2 separate regions of the Homo sapiens genome follow, and region 2 is linked to region 1. The links are contacts of gene promoters, found by promoter capture Hi-C in blood cells and fetal thymus (Javierre and others, 2016). All regions are on one chromosome and are shown on one strand. The core of a region is centred on a gene start or on the middle of the fragment in contact, and the rest is flanking DNA. Distances in the headings are between cores, read along the strand shown.

Region 1 (5,066 bases), core at 2,567-5,066:
AAGTAGCTGGGATTACAGGCATGCGCCACCATGGTTGGCTAATTTTGTATTTTTAGTAGAGACAGAGTTTCTCTCTGTTGGTCTGGCTGGCCTCAAATTCCCAACCTCAGGTGATCTGCCCGCCTCCGCCTCCCAAAGTGCTGGGATTACAGGCATGAGCCACCACGCAGGGCCAGAATTCAGGTTTTAACCAATGTTCTGGATGTAAATGGTACACAGAATCTGCGTATTGGGGGTGGGGAGGGGCACAACCCCCTAAGAGTCTCTCTTGCTCCTGGACGGCATGATGGGAAGTGACCTGTTCCACTTGTCGAGAACTAGTGGACCCCATGTTTCCCTCTAGCTTGGACACTATGGTTCTCAGGAGGAATCCTCACCCCCGGCCAGGAGCCCTTCTCCTCCACCTACTACTGCTGGGCTCTACCTCCCCCACTTTTAATTTTAAGCCTTGGCTCAAAATTCACTCCCCAATATTTCTCCCCTTCTCTCTACTTTCGTCCTCAATAATCCCAAGCAGCTGGGGTGTACAAGTCGTTTTCACCTCTTGGGACCGTGCTAAAGGGGGCAGCCTATGATTACCATGAGGGTATGGGAGCCCTGAACTGCAAATCTATCATTTCCAGAGAAGCCAGAAATCTGAAATTTTCTGTGCAATTTCTGAAACTTTAAATCAGAATTTTTTCTAAAATTCAATGGGTCAGATACCACAGTCTGTGTAATCAATCCATTCCAAAGTCTCCTCCTTTTGCTAAAGGAGAAGATTCCTTAAAACAAGGCAGAAGCCAACTGAAGCAAGGGAGAACCACCTCCCACCCCTCCCCACACACACTTTCCACACCCAGTAACTAGGTCTCTGGGCGGATAATTCTGTTTTGTTTTGTTTTTTTTAATTTTGGACAGCTAATCTCTGTAGTGAGGAACCCAGAACTTTCGGTAATGTAAGGGATATTAGTCTGGTTGTCAGAAAAATGGGCTGGAGTATTTGTGCTGTGTCCCTGACCATAATTCCTGCTCAGTTGCTTAGCTCCCTGGCAACTATGTCTGAGGGCTAAACAGGAGTTGGTGTGATCTTCCAGAAAAAGAACAGGCTTCTTGTCTTGCAGAGGCAGGAAGTCAGAAAACAAGAGTGTGTGTGTGTGTGTCAGGGGGTGGGGGGTGTCAGGTGGCACTGGAAATGGGAGGGAACTCATTAAGAGTGGGCAATTGGCCAGGTGAGGTGGCTCACGCCTGTTAATTCCAGCACTTTGGGAGGCCAGGACAGGTGGATTGCTTGAGCTCGCAAGTTGGAGACCATCCGCACAACATGGTGAGACCCCTTCTCTACAACAAATACAAAAATTAGCCAGGCATGGTGATTTGCGCCTGCAGCCCCAGCTGCTTGGGAGGCTGAGGTGGGAGGATGGATGGCTTGAGCCCGGGAGGTGGAGGCTGTCAAGATTGTGCCACTGCACTCCAGCCTGGGTGATAGAGTCAGACCTTGTCTTTAAAAGTAAAGAAAACAAAAAAAGAGTGGGCAATCCTAGGTAGGTGCAGTGGCTCAGGCCTATAATCCTAGCACTTTGGGAGGCTGAGGCAGGTGGATTGTTTGAGCTAAAGAGTTTTGAGACCAGCCTGGGCAACGTGGCAAAACCCTATCTCTACAAAAAAATATAGAAATTAGCCAGGCGTGGTGGCGCATGCCTGTAACGCCACCTACTCAGGAGGCTGAGACAGAACTGCTTGAACCCAGGAGGCTGAGGTTGCAGTGAGCCAGGATCTTGGCCACTGCTCTCCAGCCTGGGTGACAGAGTGAGCCTGTCTCAAAAAAAAAAAAAAAAAGAGTGAGCAATCCTCAAAGTATCCAAGAACAACTACACGCCCCAAGGGGAAAACCAGCTGGATTGCTTAGGCCTTGGCTGTAGTCACTAAAGAATGGCATCAATCTCAGAAACCCTCAAGATGGGGTCAATTTAGGAAGAAGCTGTTTATTCTGTACTGTCTTTGGCCTCCACCTAAGGTCTGGCATCGACCCACCCTTCAGGCTCATAGTTCAGCGAGGTTAGAGCACTTAGGGAGAAGCAGGTAACACATCCAGGGTTTGAGAGAAGACCAGCACACAACTCTCAGTGATCTGGATAGAGGAAGACTAAATTACTGTGGTTCAGGCAGCCTTGCCAGGTGATGTCTTCCCAAAACTTCTCAGATGTATATTCCTCCCTGATTGTGCCACCTAGGCCTCCTTCCCTTCAGTTTGGGACTTAAAACTTCCACCAATAACGTGAGTATGTGCACCCATGCAGCAGCCTGTCCGAGGACTCACAACTGGAGACACCTCCCTGCTTGGCGCTGCCCAGAAAACTATGTAGATGGCCAAGAAACCGACTTCCATTATAAAATGTTTTTCTGTGTGTACCAGGAAAAAGATGCTCAAAATCCAAATCACCACTTTATTATGTGGCAGTCACCATGGTGCCAGCCTCTGCCTTCCCCATGTCACCCTCCTAATCCAGGGCTCTCCAACCATATTCATGTTTGCGTTTTCACAAGTCAATGTCCATTAAGGCCTTGTGCTCCCCTTTTCTTCAGTACAGGGCAGGGCCCTTATAATTTGGGTCTCAAGAATTGATAGTTGTCTCTTAACTGGTTCTGGTGAGGCGCACTCACAGCAGTGAGTGGAGGGTCCTGGGAGGGCATGGATGACGGAGGCTGCCCCTAGAGGAGCTGGATGTAGGAGCAGAGACATTTCTTGATCTTTCACTCTGCAAACTGGTCCAAGAACTTGAGGTAGGCCTGACGCTGGGGTGCAGCTGCTGGAATGAAGTGGCCACCAGAGTGGGTGAGGGTGATGGCTCCGGGAAATTGGCTGGCCAGTTGCACACTCTCCTGAGAGGGGATGACTTTGTCAGTGTCCCCAAAAACATGGAGCGAAGGCAATGACAAGGGCCTTTGCAGGATGGATTCCTTGAACCCAATGCCCCGGGGACAGAAACCAGACACCAAGAGGATAAACCGTGGCAAGGGGAAGCGGGGATCGCCTGCCTGGCCCAGGGCACACACAAGGGCTGCTAGCGCAGCCCCTTGGCTGAAACCAAGAAGGCCGTCAAAAGGCCCCAGCCTGTTCAGTGCCTGTGCCACCATCCCCAGTGATTCCTCCAGGCCCCTGCAGACGGCGGGCTCTTCCAATGCGGAGAAAACGTCGGCCTCCTGCTCTGAAAACCACCAGCCTCGAGGCTGCTCCTCCGGAGGGCAGGACCCTACAGCGATATGAGGAAAAAGGATGGGATTAGGGCATGGGAGGCTCCAGGAAGGAAAGAAATGAGAAAGGGCAGGAGGGTTCGAGATGACAGAGAGAAAAAGGGAATCGAGGCAAAAGTCTGGGGGAAATGAGAGGGGGGAAATGAGTGGATTGGCCTGAACAGGAGACAGCGGAGGAAGACGGTGAAGGCGGAAGCCTGGGAGGACAGGCTGCAGTTTGAGCAAAGAGGGTATGGGTCGCGAGAAATGAAGGGTGTGGACTGGGTGGGAGGAATGCGGGTGGACGCAGGGTGGGGGATGCTGAAGGGTGTCGAGGGGGACGAAACAAGATGGAGGAAACTGAGTGCGTTTCCGGAGCGGGGCTTGTCTCACCGAAGTCTGATCTGGCGCCCTCGGGGCCCGGGGGGTCGGGGACCGGGTGCGGGCCGCTGAGGCACACGAGCTCGGCGCGACCCCGCAGCGCCTTCCTCAGCGCCCCGGTCTTCTCACGGAAGCCCCGCTCGCTCTGCCGGAAGCCCGCCAGGCACAGGACCCGCAGGGGTCGCTGCGCGGCCATTATGCCCGGCAAGGAGCGACGGAAGCACCGGAAGCGGTCTTTCCCCGAGCGGAAGCACAATGCACGGGGCGGAACCGAACGTCAGCACCGCCCCGAGGGCGGGCCTCGGAGCGCCAAGGCGTTCCCATGACAACGGCAAAAGGCGGGGCGCACCCAGAGCGGGGGCTGATACCTGAGGCCCGGGAGCGCGTCAAGGAGCCAGCGGCGCCACCTTCTCGTCCCTGCAGCTGCAGTCCTCGCAAGCCACGGCCGAAGGGGGACGCGCGGACCCCTCCTGCACCTGAGGTCGCAGACTTTGGTTAGGGTCTCGCTCCTGCGACCCTGCGTTTCCCTCCGCTCCGCTCCTGTGCGTTTCCCGTCGCGGTCGCAGGGCGGCGGCCAGTGCCCAGGCGCGGTCTCTCCTCCCTCCTGGAAGCCCCCGCCTACCTTCCCCCGCGCGGGCCGGCCCGGGGCGTGGGGACGGCGGTCCTGGCCGTGGTTCACCGTCCAGGGCCCCAAGGAGCTGCCAGCGTAGAAGTCCATCGGGTAGGGCTGCTGCCAGGAAATGTCCCTCAGAGCCACGGCCGCCTAGGGGAGGGGAGGGAGGGACAATAACATCTGCCAGTGTTTTTCTGCCCCTGGATTACTGAATTCAGTCCTCACGACGGCCTGTGAAGGGCACACTGTCCCCTGCCACAGAAGGGAACTGTGTGGTTCAGGGCCTTGCCTAAGGCTACACAGCTAGGAAGTGACTCCGCTGGAGAAATCGAGACAGACTCCGGAATCTACGAACATAACGAAGTGCTGCCCACCCACCCCACTCCACTCCAGACCTCACCTTTGAGAACCACGTCCAAAGCCCACTCTCTCCCAGAGCTTGGTGTTACCTCATAGGGTGTCAGCAGCGGCTTGGGGAAGGCTGTGCCCCAGTCAATGGAGAGACGTGGACATGCCACCTGCACCCACCTGGGAAGGGAAGCCAGGTCAGACCCTAGGAAGGGCCTCCTCGTCGCCCAGGCAGCATGCTGAAGAACATGACAGTGCCCCCAGCACACCCATTCATTAACAGGCTTTATGAATCCTAAAGTAAAGACAGTGACCCACTGCTGTTTGGAATACTGTATTGTTGCGTGTTTTCTCCTGTTTCCTCTGCCGACAATGAGCTTTCCAGGGCAGCTCACTGGTGATAGTATCCCCAGAACCACATTTAGTACCTGGTACAGGGCAGGTGTCAGCCACCGCTCAAACTCATCTCACAAGGACAAATGTGATGTTGCCATTGCCTCTGAGCCCCAAA
Region 2 (4,712 bases), core at 1,793-4,292, 110 kb before region 1:
CCAAAAAGTGCTAGAAGGACTAAGTTGTGAAGCAGAGGCGTGGAGATCAGACACTATGGTAGGAGTGGGATGTGTTCTCTTCTTCAGGCTCACTGCTTTCATAGCTTTCTGGGTACTGCTGTAACACACATCTTTTTCCATGGAACCTACTTGCTCCTTATGGTCATGTAACCTCATTATAAGAGGCATACTTTTTCATTTAATCTGCTATATCTTTGGAGGTGGCTATCCTCATCATTTTATTGTTAATGACATGAAGAGAAACTTTATTTTCACATGGATACTTTATGTTTTTTCCCTTACCCACTGAAAACATGACAGATTTCTTGGTTCATTCGCCGTGGCTCACGCCTATAATCCCAGCACTTTGGAAAGCTGAGGCGGGCAGATCACCTGAGGTCAGGAGCTTGAGACCAGCCTGACCAACATGGTGAAACCCTGTCTCTACTAAAAATACAAAAAGTAGCCGGGCATGGTGGCGCACACCTGTAATCCCAGTAATCCCAGCTGCTAGGGGTGCTAAGGCAGGAGAATCACTTGAACCAGCAAGGTGGAGGTTGCAGTGAGCTGAGATCCCACCACTGCACTCCAGCCTGGGTGATGGAGTGAGACTCCATCTCAAAAAAAAAAAAAAATTTTTTTTCTCAGAGTATACTTTGTTTTTTTTGAGACAACATCTTGTTTTGTTGCCAGTGCTGGAATGCAGTGGCTCACTGTGGCCTCAACCTTCTGAGCTCAAGGGATCCTCCCACCTCAGCTTCTGAGTAGCTGGGACCACAGGTACATGCTACCACACCCCGCTAATTTTTGTATTTTTTTGTAGAGATGAGATTTCACCATGTTGCCCAGGCTGGTCTTGAAGTCCTGAGCTCAAGCAGTTCACCCACCTTGGCCTCCCAAAGTGCTGTGATTACAGCCACCATGCTGTCCTTATACTTTTTAATTAGAGGTTAGCAGGTGTTTATTATTAACAATAGTTTCAGTATTCATTTTTATTAAGTTCTGTGCACATTAATCCCTTCCAGCCAGCAGGCCTCTAGTTAGTCTAGGCCTCTGATTTCAGCTTGAATATACACTTTGCTCTTTTGGAGAAACAGAGACCTCTGCCTAAGTGAAACAGGACATGTAAAGGGAGGAGGAATACCAGGCTGAGATTTCATACCTTTGTAATCTCTAAAGAAGGTTGTATTGTCTCTACAACAAGGAAAAAGTTGAAGGACAAAGGGCATAAAATTCTTTTTTTCCAACATAAATCTTTGTCTGTTTTATAGTGTTGTCTGTAATTTCAAGGTGAAAGTGGGCCCTCCCTCAGCCCCGTCACACTCTAGATGCATCCCCAGATTCCCCCCCGTCACCGTCACACTCTACATGCATCCCCAGGTTTCCCAGTCACCGTCACACTCTAGATGCATCCCCAGGTTTCCCAGTCACCGTCACACTCTAGATGCATCCCCAGGTTTCCCAGTCACCGTCACACTCTGCGTGCATCCCCAGGTTCCCCCGTCACCGTCACACTCTACGTGCATCCTCAGGTTTCCCAGTCACCGTCACACTCTACATGCATCCCCAGGTTCCCCAGTCACCGTCACACTCTACATGCATCCCCAGGTTCCCCCAGTCACCGTCACACTCTATATGCATCCCCAGGTTCCCCAGTCACCGTCACACTCTACATGCATCCCCAGGTTTCCCCAGTCACCGTCACACTCTACATGCATCCCCAGGTTCCCCAGTCACCGTCACACTCTACGTGCATCCCCAGGTTCCCCCGTCACCGTCACACTCTACGTGCCTCCCCAGGTTCCCCCGTCACCGCACACTCTACGTGCATCCCCAGGTTTCCCAGTCACCGTCACACTCTACATGCATCCCCAGGTTCCCCCAGTCACCATCACACTCTACGTGCATCCCCAGGTTTCCCAGTCACCGTCACACTCTAGATGCATCCCCAGGTTCCCCCGTCACCGTCACACTCTACATGCATCCCCAGGTTCCCCAGTCACCGTCACACTCTACATGCATCCCCAGGTTCCCCCAGTCACCGTCACACTCTACATGCATCCCCAGGTTCCCCAGTCACCGTCACACTCTACATGCATCCCCAGGTTCCCCCAGTCACCGCGTGGAGTGGCGTTCCACCAGTTTACCCCTGTGCCATAGAGACTCTTAGCAACCAAGATGGGCGGGTTTGCATAAGTTAAAATTCACTCTGTTGTACAGTTTTGAGAAACACATACTTTCATGTAACCATCACTACAATTAAGATATAGACCATTTTCAACACCCCCAAAAATTCCCTCATGCAACCAGCTCCCTTCCCAACCCCAGTCCCTGACAACTTCTGATGTTTTCTGTCTCTGTAACTTAGCTTTTTCCAGAATGACGTATAAATAAAATCATACAGTACATAGAGCAGGGGTGCCAATCTTTTGGCTTCCCTGGGCCACATTGGAAGAATTGTCTTGGGCCACACATAGACTACACTAACACTAACGATAGCTAATAAGCTTTAAAAAAAAGTCTCAAAAAACATCTCATAGTATTTTAAGAAAGTTTATAAATTTGCGTTGGGCTGCGTGGGCCACGGGTTGGATAAGCTTGATATAGAGCTCTTGAGTCTGGCTTCTTTTCGCATAGCGTAATACATTTGAGATTCATGCATGCTGTTGCCTATATCAATCATATGTTCTTTTTTGTTGCAGAGTAGTATTCCATTGTATACATACACTATGATTTGTTTATCCATTCACCAGTTGAACATTTGGGCTATTTGCAGTTTTTGGTGGTCATGGATAGAACTGCTGTAAACATTTGTGCATCAGTCTTTACGTTTCTTAAATGAACTTAGGTTTTCATTTCTCTTGGATAAATACTTAGGAGTGGAACGGGTGGTTTATGTGATAAGAGTATGTTTAACTTCGCTAGAGACCAGCAAACTGTTTTACAAAGTGGCTGCACCGTATTGCACGAGCAGTTCCTGTTCTGGCATCATTATCAGCACTTGATCCTGTCAGTTTGTTTGTTTTTTAATAATTATACTAGGTACCTTGTGATTTTAATTCGCATTTCTCTAATGGCTAATGATGTTGAGCATCTTTTCATATGTTCATTTGTCATCTGTGTATCTTCTTTGGTGAAGTGTCTATTCACATCTTTTGCCTATTGTTAAATCGGATTATTTTCTTACTGAGTCTTGAGAGGTCTTTATATATTTAGGATGCAAATCCTTTGTCAGGTACAAATGCATTGCAGATATTTTCTCTCAGTCTGTGGCTTGTCTTTTCACTTTAGAGACTAAGTTTTGACTGATTAAATGCTGAGAGCTGAAGGGTTCACAGGCTCTCTTAGTAGAGGACCATAAGGAAATTGAGACCTTAGTCAGCAGAAAGTTGTGAGGACCACCCCTTTTGAAGCTGTTTATTTAAAATGAAAGAGGGGGATAAGGGGTGGGCCAAACTGAATTGTCCAGACAGATTTCTGAAGCTTTTTTCAGTTCTTTCTCCTGTCCCCGCCTATGATGTAGCTTCTGGGCTCTTACCTTCAACTGGGTTCCTCACTTCCTGCCATCACTCCAAATTCATCAAGGCCTCTCCGGCTCAGGCCGACTCCAACAGAATACCCGAGAGGTCAGGCCAGCTTCTTGCCCGTAGTATATTCCAGAGTGAAGTCGTTTTTTGATAAGTAATCATTCCCAATTCTAAAGTGATAGCCTCCAAGGAGTCATTGCTTTGAAGAACTCCTTTCATCTCCAGCTGGACTCTTTTCCAAACAACCATCGGCAGAGCCTAGTCAGGGTTCTGACACACAGGGTTCTGCCATGAGAAGCAAATTGGCAGCAGCAGACAGGCCCCCGAGGCAATGGAATTCAGTTCTCAGAACATACTCACCATGGGTCTCTTTCATGTTGTGTGGAATTCTTTCCACTGGGCAGCCGCATAGGTGTAGGGAAAATGTCCTGCCCCATTGGATAAAAGTCAAGAGAAGATACTATGTGGAATCTTGTCACTTTTTAATTGCTGATCCGTGTTAAGATGTTTTTCTTAAGCAGCATTTGCCACTGACTAGACATTAGTAGAGTTTCTTTTTCTTTGTGCATGTGACATGGATCACTAACACTGCATGTGATGGTCAGAGGAGGCCTGCCTTAGTGCTGGAGATCTGACCATTTCTCCAGGACAGTGGAGCCTGGTGAAGGCTCTCTGACTTCTGATCCCAGTTGGAGCAATGTGTTCAGAGAAGAATTTCTGAGCCTTCGTGAATCTCAGTTATTTGCATGTCTTTTTGTAAGCAAACAGCAACTTGTAGGCAGGCTTAAAACTTTCTTTTTCTGCTCATGAAAGTACAGATTTTGCTATAGACAAATCAATTGAATATAAAACTGTAATGTGGAATAATATTTCAGGCTTTAAAAATGGAGGGATGGGTTAAAAAGTTCTGCAATAAATCTGCAAATGTGGAATCTAAGGGAAATGATCCCATCTGGAAAACCCTGCTAGTGGTGCTATGGCTGGTTTGTGGAGCAGTGCAGACTGTGGAGTGAAAAAAGACCCTGTAGTCTTGAAAGATGACAAGCTCCTTAATTGATGTCCATTTCAGCTGGTGCTGTGCCAGCTTATGTTGGCCTCGGTCCAGCGTTCCTGTAATTTGGGAGCCAGGTGTGAAGCATTTTTGTTCCATCTTGTTCCCCAGCATCTACAGAAGCCTCACCCATC

The links. Contacts are between HindIII fragments. The CHiCAGO score rates a contact against its expected background, and 5 or more counts as called.
Region 2: a contact is called between a fragment that was not itself captured here and the fragment with the promoter of OVCA2 in region 1, in 8 of 17 cell types (endothelial precursors, monocytes, activated CD4 T cells and 5 more). The highest score is 7.7, in endothelial precursors.

What each region holds. Positions count from the first base shown.
Region 1 is chr17:2,040,772-2,045,837 of GRCh38, reverse strand. OVCA2 (OVCA2 serine hydrolase domain containing) reads right to left here and starts at 3,816. Exons shown (of 2, transcript NM_080822.3): 1 at 3,607-3,816; 2 at 2,413-3,233. The coding sequence starts at 3,790. The coding sequence ends at 2,734. It overlaps DPH1 (diphthamide biosynthesis 1), which reads right to left. Exons shown (of 13, transcript NM_001383.6): 10 at 4,657-4,735; 11 at 4,217-4,357; 12 at 3,963-4,070; 13 at 1,940-3,233. The coding sequence ends at 3,981. RefSeq lists silencers at 3,514-3,713, 4,224-4,313 and an enhancer at 3,904-3,963. The HindIII fragment of the contact is 21,411 bases long and covers 1-5,066 here.
Region 2 is chr17:2,150,979-2,155,690 of GRCh38, reverse strand. All of the region lies in intron 13 of SMG6 (SMG6 nonsense mediated mRNA decay factor), which reads left to right. Among named protein-coding and RNA genes, the nearest start is that of SMG6-AS1, 64 kb to the right of the region's middle. The HindIII fragment of the contact is 886 bases long and covers 2,600-3,485 here.